2 separate regions of the Homo sapiens genome follow, and region 1 is linked to region 2. The links are contacts of gene promoters, found by promoter capture Hi-C in human tissues and cell types (Jung and others, 2019). All regions are on one chromosome and are shown on one strand. Each heading gives the region's core, a stretch centred on a gene start or on the middle of the fragment in contact. The rest is flanking DNA. Distances are from core to core; before and after follow the strand shown. Region 1 has its middle 86 kb from the start of MKKS. Region 2 holds the start of SNAP25 (synaptosome associated protein 25).

Region 1 (5,736 bases), core at 1,832-4,331, 130 kb after region 2:
TATTTTAAAGACTTCATGCAGTCTATTTTCTTTGGTTTGCTTTCTGTGTATAGTTCTAAGATTTGATGAGGTCTGTAGTTCTGTTATGATGATTATTTTTATTAATGCATATCGTCAGCATACAATAGTTCCCTGTTACAAGAAATAAAAAATAGCGTTCTCTCCTTCTTCCCCATTCCCTTCCTCTCCTCCCCACCACCCAATTTAAATCAATAACGTTATCTTTCTTATCGTTACCTTTGTATTATTAAAAATGTGTGTATGCCTATCACTTCATTAGTCAGCTTTTAATGACGTCATTTAAATCAGCAGACTTATTTTAACTCCTACTTTCTTCACTCCGATTTGTAGTATTGTAAAATTTCTATATTGTCCATAGTCACTTCAAGATGGCTCTATCACCTTTAGCCAGTGTATTCTTACAGTGCTTTCTGAAATCTGTTTTTTCTGGGTTCTTTCACTAACCTTTTGCCTTTATCCTTCCTTTTCTCTTTTACTTTTTTCAGCTGCTCTTCCTGTCTGTTGCTTTTATATTTTACAGTCTGTGAATCATATTTGTCTCCTACTTTTTACTAAAGATGGCATCTCTGAAGTGTGTTTCTTCATTCTCCTTGAAGATTTTGTATAGATTTCAGGAGGAGAAAAAGAAAGAGACTTACTTACACAGAGTCATACTGGAAGTTCCTGTATGTGTTTGTTGCTGTTGTGTTTGTTTTGTTTTGTGATCATGTAGCGTTTCTCATGCCCATTAAAGGATCAAACCTCACAAAACTACAAAAGCAGTGACTCTGGTCACAGGTATTATAGGTATTTTAACAAAACAATTAAGAAATCATTTGAGGAGTAACCTTTCAGCACTTCTCAAGGTATAGAAGTGCTGTGATTTGAATGTTTGTCCCCTGCAAAAGTAAGGTTGAAATTTAATTGTAATGGTATTAAGGGTGGGACCTTTAAAAGGCGCTTAGGCCATGAGGATCTGCTTTCATAGGTGGGATTACTGTTGACATAAAAGGGCAAGTTCGGCCCTCTTGATCTCTTTGCCCTTCTACCATATGATGACTTTTGCCATGTTTTAACACTGAAAGAAGGTCCTCACCAGATGCTGGAATCTTCATGTTGGGCTTCTCAGCCTCTGGAAGTGTGAGCCAATAAATGTATGTTTATTATAAATTACCCAATCTGCAGTAATCTGTTAAAGCAGCATGAAACAGACTAAAACAAGAAGCAAATGGCTTTTTAGCAATACAATTATCTAGGCCAACTTCTAACCGTTCCTCACCTGGTAATAACCATTTTCCTTTCATTTCTGTTTTACAAGTCTAATTTTACAGAATTATAAATCATTAGCAATAAGAGTGATGCTGTAGTGCATATTCTCAAAGAAATTTAAGCCGTTGATAATTTTTTCTTGGAAGGTAAATGTCTTGTGCTTATTCTTAATTATTCAAGTGATTTAAAAATGTGGACATAATCATAACTGTCAAGGTAAAGATTATAGTGAACATATCCACTTGGAGTACTTCAGGAGAGTTAAATAAGATTGGAAAGTATTGTTCACCTATAAAGTTAGAGAACTGGGCAGAAAGAAAAACCTATTGATTACGTTACTTTTGCTCATTGTTTAATTCCTGACCCTTCTTGAAATAGCTGCCCAACCCCTACGAAACTGTCATACCTCTCTGATGGCAGTTGACTAGTAATAAAATTCAGGTCACCATCTATTACAGGCCAGAGAGTCTGACTTTCAGCATAGTCTTAGTGACCAAATTTGCCAAATGCTATAGAATATTCCAAAAACAAAAGGTTTCATTCCTTGGTATAGATAGTGTCCATCTATAAGATAAAGAAAATTAGATCTAACTCATACAATTGGTGTGAAGATCAAATAAGAAAATGTGGATAAAGTACATGAGCCATAAGTAATCAATAAGTGTCAGTGGCCCTCCTGTGTGCTTCTCAGCTCTTCCTCCCCTCCGCCATTTCTTACTACTATAACCTGGATTTCCCTTGGCAATAGTCCTTTTGGACTTCCCAAAACTAGGAAACTTTTTGCTGAAAGCAGATTATTCTTTGTTTAGTGGAGTATAATGTAGTCCTCTAGTGATCAGAAATGGAGTAACCATTTTTTTCCTCCTAAATACTATTTGGCTTATTAATGACTTGCTCCTATTATGGCATTTCTCACATTGTTTTATAGGGTTTTTTTTTTTTTTGCACATATTTCTTTCATCTTGATTTCAAAATATAGAAAGGCAAAGACTCTACATTTTCTTCTTCAAATCTATGACACAGTATTAGTGATCTATTGCCGCATAACAAATTACTCTGAAATTCATCAGCTTAAAACAACACACATTTATTTTCTCAGAGTTTCTCAGAAGCAGCTTAGCTGCATAGTTTTGGCTCAGGGTGTCTCACGAGATTGCAGTCAAGCTGTTTGCTGGGGCGACTGTCATCATTTTTCATATTCTTGGCTGTGTCATATAATGTTCAACAGAGTCTCTCTCTCTCTCTCTCTCTCTCTAGTTCTCATTTAGATTCTATATGAGACAGAAATTCCAGAGCCAATTTACTTTTGAAAAACCCCTCAAATTACCCCTAAAACACAGTCTATATCCCTTTCAAGATGTTGAACACAGTGAAAGGTCTGGTTAAAAGCTGGGGAGAATAGTGGGCTTAGAATCAGAGGACATGTTCTATGAAAAATTACATAATTTTAAATACAAGAATTATATTTAACTTAGCTACACAGACACACAGACACACACATACACACACACACACACACACACACACACACAAGAGGCATTCAGAGACTGAGGAGGCTGAGGGTACAAAGTTTCCTATCTCACCTTGACCACAGGACTCACTCTCAATTAGTGGATTAGCAGTTGCAATTTAAAATTTAAAAAGTTGTTTATTTATTTATTTTTGCCAAGTTGAACCTGCATACATGAAATACATTCATGATTTAACCCTGACATATTAATATTAAAAGGTAAAGAAGTTTTCAGATTCATCTTTAAGTGTTCTCTCAGATTTGATCTTATGCTTTCTCTGTCCAGCATTTCTGAGCTTTGCTCTGCTTGCTGATTGATGCTAACAAAGCAGGCCTCAGAATTGTTCTAGTATTAGAGCCACTGGAAGCCAAAGTGCTTCTTGCAGAATATAGTATTGTTATGTTGTATTCCAATCACACAGATAATACTTTAACACAAAATTATATTTGGTTATTTTAAGTTTATATTGATTAGGGTCATTACATTTAATTAAATTTACACAGCATGAAAGGCAATAGTGTCATGATCGCAAGTGTAAAAATCCAAACACACACACACACACACACATTTGATTCATAGGTTTTTGAATCAAACCTATCCCTTAATATTGGTTTGTTGTATGATCATTCTTCTAGCTACCGGCTAGTCCTCTCTGGCAGATAATCAATGGCACCTGTCAAAAGTTTAAGATGCATAATATTTTTTAAAAGTATTGTAGAAAAACAAGTTTAAGAAAAATTTCCTTGAGTTATTTTTCCCCAAACTGGAATACAGTTACATTTTAGCCAAAGCCCTTGCGTTCGCTTATAGAAGATAAACCTTCTGTTGCAACCAAGGAGACAATTCCAATCTATCTCATGAGCTGCATGGAAATCTGAAGGTCAAAAAACTCTGAATGTCTTTCTTCTGTTATCCTTGTTAAAAAATAATATATCCCATCTGGAAATTTGGAGCTTGAGTCCTCTGTGGTAAGTGCTTCCTTTGTTGTTATGTAATCTTTATTTTCTAAATTCTTTACCACTAGTTGTGTAAAGTTGGTCCTGATGTAGGTACAGACATACACACGCCTCGGTTAAGAGTAAAGGTTTTGAATAAGCTGGCTTCTCTGACCAGAATATTGCTAGAATGTAAGCACTGTGAGTACACAGGCCTCCATATATTTTGCTCACTGCTGTTTCCCTCGAGAAGTCCCTGGCATTTGGTGAAGGCTTGATCAATATTTGTTGAGTGTTTTTATGGTTGAAATCATTGTTTATGTTCCATTAGCTTTCACCATTTTTTTTTCATACCTCTGTATTAGTTTCCTAGGGCTGCCATAACAAATTACCAAAAACTTGGTGGCTTTAAACAACAGAAGTTTATTCTCTCACGGTTCTAGAGTTTGTAAGTCTGAAATCAAGCTGTTAGCAAGGCCACACTCCCTCCAAGGCTGTAGGGGGGTATTTTTCCTTGTCTCTTCTAGTTTCTTTTTTCTGGTGAAAAGATACATATATTTAGAATTAGCCAGCCAGACTCAGTTTAGATGATCCCAATTTTGTTGGCAACATCCAAAGCATCATAATCAGGACCCAGAAGAATATGTGCCTTCTTCTCTCTATCAGTCCTAACCAGGGTGTTGACCTTGGCCACATCAATGTCACAGAGCTTTTTCACAGCCTGTTTGATCTGGTGCTTGTTGGCTTTAACATCCACAATGAACACAGGTGTGCTGTTGTCTTCTGTCTTCTTCATGGGAGACTCAGTGGTCAGCAGAAACTTGATGATGACATAGTGGCCAAGCTTGTTTCTCCTGGGGGTGCTCTTTCGAGGATATTTGGGCTGCCTCTGAAGTCACAGTGTCTTGGTGGGCGGGGGTCGTGCAGATTTTCTTTATGTGTGTGTGTATGTGGCTGTGGACACCTTTCAGCACTGCCTTCTTGGCCTTCAAAGCCTTTGCTTTGGCCTTGGCTTTAGGAGGGACGGAAGCTTCCTTCTTCATCTTTGGCACCATCTTGTGAAAAGCTCTCTTCTAGTTTCTGATGTCTCCAGGCATCCCTTGGCTTGTAGCTGCACAACTCCAATCTCTGCCTCCATCTTCACATGGTCCTCCCCTATGTCTGCTTCTGCTCTTCTTTTTATAAGCACATTTGTCATTGGATTTGGGGCCCACCTAGTTAATCCAGGATGGTTTAATCTTGAGATTCTTCACTTAATTTACACCAACAAAGACTCTTTTTCCAAATAAGATCACATTCACACTCACACGTATCTGAAGTTGGAACTTGGACATGTTTTTCATGGCCACGATGCAACCCATTACAATGTCTAACTACCAATATTAAGATTCTATTCATTCAACACACATTTTTAAAATATCTATTATGTTCCAGGCACCAAATGGTGAGGATGCAAATATCAGCATGATGTGGCCACTGTCCTTCCTTAGCCAGATGACAACTTATCAAAGGTTTTTATCCTAATCCTTCTGTAATAAAATATATTTTAAATTCACATAAAAGGATATCTTATCTACTCTGAATCCCTTCGTATTAATTTTTCCATAAATTCTAAAGAACACTCTTCATTGTTACTTTTTCAATTGTCCTATTATTCATTTTTCAGATGTTATTAGCTCGAGGTCATTTCTTTCAAAAAATTTCATGATGTGAAACCATTTTAATTAGTTTCAACATATTTTCTTTCACCACAAGTCAAAGTACAGGAGCAGTAAACTTAGCAAGAACCCATTCATCCCTGTACCATTTTGTCATTAAGGTAACATCAATATCCCTCCGGCTGAGGTTAGCCATATCTTATCATGGCCTGGTTTCTTTGGAAAGCAGAGCCTGAGAACATATAGGTAGTTTATTTGGGAAATAATTCCAGGAAGCAGGAGTGTCAGATGGGGGCGGTTTGGAGGGGAACAGGGGATCAGGGAATCAAGAGGGAGAAACTAAACAGGAATACATTGCCAATT
Region 2 (6,305 bases), core at 389-2,888:
TAAACGCAGCGCCTTCACAACTCTTCTTCCCTTCCCCCTACCCCGCTTCCCTCCCTCCGCAATGGAGCGCAATCAAAGGCCGTATTATTGCCTAAGCTTGGCTCTCAGGCCAGCTAGGGATGTGTGTGTGTGTGTGTGTGTGTGTGTGTGTGTGTGTGTGGTGGGGCGGGGGTGGGGGGCGAGGGTGCAAGGGGAGAGGTTGTACGCCGCTTTTCCGAACCCAGCTCTAAATGGTTTCTCCTAAGCGAGACAAGGATTTTCCATAGCCTAAAAGAGGCCATCAAGTTTTAACATTGCGAGGCACGACTTCTAATCGCATCCTTCCCGGAAAAGTACAAACAGTTCCTCAGACGAGGTCCCCCACCTCCCACGCGCTCCCCAGCCCTCCCTCCCTGCGGAGAGCCCCGCGACAGCCTCCCCAACACCTGTGAATCATCCGGGAGGCTGCCACCGCCGAGCGATCCGCGCACCACCCCCTTCCCGGGCCCGGGCACGGCCAGGGAGGACAGTTAGGGTTGTTGCTTTATAATTATCACTTTTAATCTCTAATACGACCAGCACAAGTAGCCTTTGTCTCCCCGCCCTGATTTGAGCATCCGAGGGCCCCCCGAGGCAGCCTGCACGGGTACCCCGGGGTTTGCGCACTGAGTGAACCCCCAGATTCGGCCGTGTCCCAGCCGTCCTTGCTCTGAATCCCCCACCTCCTCCCGGCCGTTTGGACGGTTCCCTCGGGGCGTCTGTGCCTCCGTGGGGTACCCCTAAGACACCCAGCATGAAACCCCAGCACCGACTGCAAATTCCACCGAAAGCAGAGTCATCCGTTTTTGCCCTCGGCAAACAACTCAACTTCAAGCCTCGAGTCCTTGCAAACCCACGCTGGCTGGGCTAACTCCGCTTCCCTTCTCCTTCCCCCGACTCCTGCAACAGCTCAGAGAGCCTGGCTCTGACGTAGTTCAAAATAACGTGCGCCAGCCTCGCTGCCCGGCTGACCACAGCAACGAGAGCCACAAGCCCTCGACGCTGCTTCGATAACATGAAGCAATCACTCATAAAAATAGCAACCCACGTAGCCTGGCCATATATGGAGCTGGCGAGGGTGGACGGGGATGCCCCTACGGACCCTCTTCGGAGAAAACAAATCGCCGCTGAAATTTCCCCCACCCCTCCCATCACTACCTTTTACCCCTCCTCTGCCTTCCCCTCTCCTTAGATGACTCAACCACAGATTCCACTGAAAGGGGGTGGGGGTGGGGGTGGGGGGGAATATATACACATACACACAAATTATACATATATTATACATGTATTATAAAATATACACACACATACATATATACATACACACACATATACACATATGTACACACACACGCACACACACCAAAGAACATCAGGAATGCAGTTGCGGGATGAACGCGTTTGCCCAAGACCGAGTGTTAAAATGGAGTCATAAGAGTCGCCCCGTGCGGGTGTTTATAGAAGGTGAAAACACGCAGGTTTGCAGGCCAGCGCACTGGGAACCGAGTCAAGCGCGCCGCAGCCCGGGCCCCGCCCCCGCCCCCGCCGTGCCCCGCCCCCACTTCCTCCCGCCCCTCGCTGGGCGGCTATTAAAAGCTGCTGACGTCAAAACGGACGGCCATCTTTGATGAGGGCAGAGCTCACGTTGCATTGAAGACGAAACCTCGGGGAGGTCAGGCGCTGTCTTTCCTTCCCTCCCTGCTCGGCGGCTCCACCACAGTTGCAACCTGCAGAGGCCCGGAGAACACAACCCTCCCGAGAAGCCCAGGTAAGAACCCCCCTCCCCAGGTCGTGGCTCTGGCTCGGGATGGCTGCATACCCAGAAGGGACAGCAGCTGGGCAGTCCGAGTGGGCTTGGGTAAATACAAGTATTGGTGCACTTAGGGTGCGGTATTCCGTGTGTGCACGTCTGGTGGGGGCTTTATAAAGTGTTTTCGAGGTGAGCTGCTGGGGAAAAGGGAAACGGGAGCCCTGCAAATGGAGCGACGGGGAGGAAGAGCGAGGGTACGTACCGAATAATAACTTACTCTTTTGAAACAGTAGTGGGACCCCCTCTTTCTTCCATTTTGCGATGCAGTTTTCAGAGATATTTAGGCTGTTGAGTTTTCCTCCCCTGTCGTTCTAACCCTATTATTATGACTGTTGTCGTTAGGGTGCTATTATCCAGGGAAGAATTAAGGGGGAGACAGGGTGTGGGTGCTGGGGAGGCGAAAGGAGAAAGGGGGAGTTCCCGCCCCGGGCAAGCTGAGCTGCTGCAGCGACAGCAGCCTCCATGCCCCGCGGACTTGATTTATGCCGCCTGCTCCACGTCAACTGCAGGCTGGCGGGAGGCGGGCGGGTCGTGCCGGGTGGGAGGGCTCTGCGGAGGGCTGGCGCGGGTGGGCTGGCTTCGGGGACTGCGGCGGCCCGCGCTCAGCACCCTGGATAGCAACACCGAGGGCTCGCGCGGGCGCCCTCGACCTTTCAGCACCGGGGACAGCGGTCCGGCCGCAGCGCCTCATCTGCCTGCGGCAGAAATGCCTGGCCGGGGCTGGATGTGCCAGGGCTGGAGACCAAATTGTCTCCCTGAGACCCCGGTCTTACGGAGACCCTTAATAGAGGAGTCATAGTAGCTTAAAAGAAAACAAGAAAGAAATAAATCTTCCTCACAGAGACTCCTTTGCAGACAATTTCCTGTTCCCCTCCTCACCTCCTGCATAGCTTCAACAAAATAGTCTACTTGTGGAAATCTTCTGTGTTGCCCTCTGACCCTTATTTTACGTAGAAAATAAATACATTTTTTAAAAAATATGGATTTATCCTCCAGCAGGGTATCAAGGTTTTTGTTTGGTTTTGTTTTTTAACACAGAGTAGATCTGTCTACAGATCTTGGGTGAGCATAAGTACTGTATATATGAAGAAGCCAATGCTATCTGTTTATAGGGATGATACATCTCTCTCTATGTTTCCATTTGATAAAAATGTGAGATTAGCTGAACTAAGCAGAATCAACTTTAAGAATGAATCACTCTTCCTTTTCCTTCTTCCCCCATCCTTGCAATCAGGCATGAATACAAGCATTCATCCACAAAAACACATATCTGAGAAATTTTACTGGTCCTGTACTGAATAGATTTAACCTCTTTGGCCACGGTTTCAGAGTTACTGGAAGTATTTGCTATCAGCACTGGTTATCGCAGGCTGATAGCTTTAGATTTTGACAATATTAAGACTGGCCTTCCTCAGGAGAATCCAAGTGTGTCCTTCAGGGTAATGCAGGTAAAGAACCATGGTGTTAAACTAGAACTTAACTCTGACCTAAAGGTCTACTGCAATTTCTCTTATGGCACTGCGGGATTTTGCTGAGGTGGTAATAACTACTTTAACCATTTTCTACTCTGAGGCTTGGAGCATCTGAGAGAGCAAAAGTCATCAGGGGTATTTCTCTCTGTTTGATGTAGATAAAACTGGCATAAAAATGACCAGAGTCAAAATTATGCCATTTGAGTCATTAGCAAAAAAGAGTAACAGCGTCATATGTAATAATCTATACAATGCATTAAAGAAACGCTATCATGATCCCCTTAAAAGACCCCAAATGAGAACTTGGATTGTGTTTAGATAGTCATACCTCCTATCATCTGTATGCTACAGACACTAAAATTCCCTGTCCATATACAGAAGGTAATTTCATTCGCTGCTATTTAATTATTTCCTAGTGTTTTTTCTTTTTATAGATGACCATGTGTTTCCATGTATGTATATGTTGATCTGTTATTTTGCATGGATGTAAAATTATTTGGGTGGACATTTATATATGAGTATGTAAACGTATAAAAGAAGTTTATAACTTTGCAATCTGCAGACAAAAATAAACAACTGTGTTTTAGTAGTGGAGGAGAGAAAATATGGGCAGGAATCTTTAAAAATGCTTTAACTTCATGCTGCATGTCCAGACAGCTGTCTGCGTAGTTGCGTCAAATGAAAAGCCTAATGCTGCCGGAATTACGTGCTTGGACATTAGTAATTACTGCTGGGTTTGTTTGCTAGTGGAAGACTGGGGAGGAGCGGGGGAAGTAGAGGACCGCAGTGAAGATGGCAAAGGGCACAGAGCTGAGAGGAAGAAGCAATGTGCACAATTAGAAAGCTAATTTTAGAATAGCTTACTGAGAAATTTAAAAAATATATCATTGAACCATGAATTTAACATTTATATCATTGACAAGCTTCCAGGGAAAAAAAATCGAGAAATTTCCCATTTTAAGTTAGAATTTTTAAAATCCAGGGCAATGCGGTGAGAAGAGGCAGGAGCAGATGGACATAGGATGAGCCAGGAGTCATTCACACAGACCCTCTGATGCCTGTTTGTTCATCGGCATTTACTGCATTACCACCTCAGTGTTCAAATTACAGAACAATTTACAATCCTCTTAACCTCTTCATGGCAAAATCTCCCAAGAATTCACAATTTTATTTTTACTTTGTTAAACACGCACAACCACACATGCACAAACACAATGCAAACTACCCGTTAATTAGCTTGTCTAAAGATATTCCCAAGCTCTAAATGTTAACCCTTGAGTGAGGGTTATCAGCTGAAAGACATGTTTCTGCCAGTGACACCTAGAAGCTGCGTAAGCAGTCAGCCTTCAGCATAACACGTAGGTTTTGACGATTAGTAGAAACGAGAAAAATAATCTGAGAAAGAGGTTGAGAGAGGAGACATGAAGGAGAAAAATAGAAAATATGCTTTTTAGATAATTCACTATGAATAAACAATGTTTCTCACATTATGGGACTGCTTTACAATTCTATAAAAGAAGGAAAAATCTGTGTTTTAAGCCTCAGCGCTGGATACTTTCTGCAATGTCATCCCTTGTCAGCAAGTACCAACCTGATAGGAAGATACTGATCAATCGGTATTCACCGGATACAGAAATGAATCCCATGGGAGTTATAAAATTTCATGGTTTTGTCTTGACCTCAATAAGTTTAGCATCTAGCAATCTTAATAAAAGCAATAAACAATAAGTTAATAAATAAAACCAGAATTAAATGCAATAAAACATTAGAAGACAAATTTTGAGGACATATGTGATTAATTTCCAAGTGAATGTAACCAACAATAAGTAACATAAAATCAGGAGGGCGATATCGCAGTGGACTGGAACAATCTGAGAGAAGAGGCAGGCCTTGAGATGGCTTTTGGAGGTTGCAGAGAGGTGGGAGAGTTCTGTTAAGCTGAAGTCACAACATATGCAGAATATCAAGTTAGGCAAGCCCACTCTACAGTTGGCAAACCCTGAAAATGCCCATTGATTTGGGTGGAGTGGGAAGCTTGGAGGGAATAGGCTGGGATGCAGAGTTGGAGCCTTCTGTGGAAGGCTTTGAATGTCAAGCTGAGAATTTGGTACTTTATCCTCTAAAGTTGATTTCTGAGCAGAAGCTGATATAACAAAGTAACCAGGTCTTTTTAATATCCAGAAATTACTATTGACAGAGTGGATTTAATTTGCATTCTTCCAGAAGTAGAGGGGAGCAAATTGGTATCATAAGAGATGGTTAATGAAAAAAAATCAGTCCTTACTGAAGCATCTTTTAAGACTACTTTTCAGGATACATATACCTACATAGACATATAATTCCTGCTTGGAAGTTAATTGCAAGTTTCCATTTTCCATTATTGACTAAATGAAATTATGCAAGTTGAGCACTTGCCAGGCAGACTGAAAAGAAAGTCAAGAATCTGGTGATGAGACACCCCAGAAGGTCCCAGAAGGTGCACTTGAATAATAAACATGGTGCTGAACACTCTCTTGCCCTCTGTGAATATTCAGCATTGTCAAGTGCACTGACGGGAGGAATGAAAAAAGTTGTCATTTCTTCTGAGCATGTTTTGAGCAGCATGACATATAGGACCAGCCCCAAGTGGCTAAAAATGGGAGGAAAAAGATGGAATGGTAGAATTTTGAAAAACTGGAATGGGTAGTATATCAGATTTCTTTCCCTGCCTATTTTGCTGACTCTTGCTAGTTACCCTCACTTCAGGGCTACCTCGAGGTCTGGATTACACCCATTTCCTTTCTAACCTTGTGGTTACTACTCTCACAGAAGAGCTTCAAAAATCCAAATGCTGACAGAATTGCTAAGCCAAAATAGTCAGTGGGTTCATGTAGAGGAAGAAATGGCAACGGTAGATACAGATTTTACTGCCATTTCATTTCTGGCTATAAGGTATCAAGAGACTATCCTCATCTATTCTTCACTAAAACACTGGCAGTAGAGACACCACAGGATAACATTTTTAT

What was found. The method cuts DNA at HindIII sites, captures the fragments that hold promoters and counts their contacts. A contact is called where the count stands out against the background at its distance.
Region 1: a contact is called between a fragment that was not itself captured here and the fragment with the promoter of SNAP25 in region 2, in 2 of the 25 tissues and cell types used here (mesendoderm cells and stomach).

Annotation. Positions count from the first base shown.
Region 1 is chr20:10,344,859-10,350,594 of GRCh38, forward strand. It overlaps the pseudogene RPL23AP6. Among named protein-coding and RNA genes, the nearest start is that of MKKS, 86 kb to the right of the region's middle. The HindIII fragment of the contact is 3,141 bases long and covers 1,512-4,652 here.
Region 2 is chr20:10,217,192-10,223,496 of GRCh38, forward strand. It overlaps SNAP25 (synaptosome associated protein 25), which reads left to right and starts at 1,639. Exons shown (of 8, transcript NM_130811.4): 1 at 1,639-1,786. It overlaps SNAP25-AS1 (SNAP25 antisense RNA 1), which reads right to left and starts at 2,315. Exons shown (of 5, transcript NR_040710.1): 1 at 2,046-2,315. The HindIII fragment of the contact is 5,357 bases long and covers 1-4,778 here.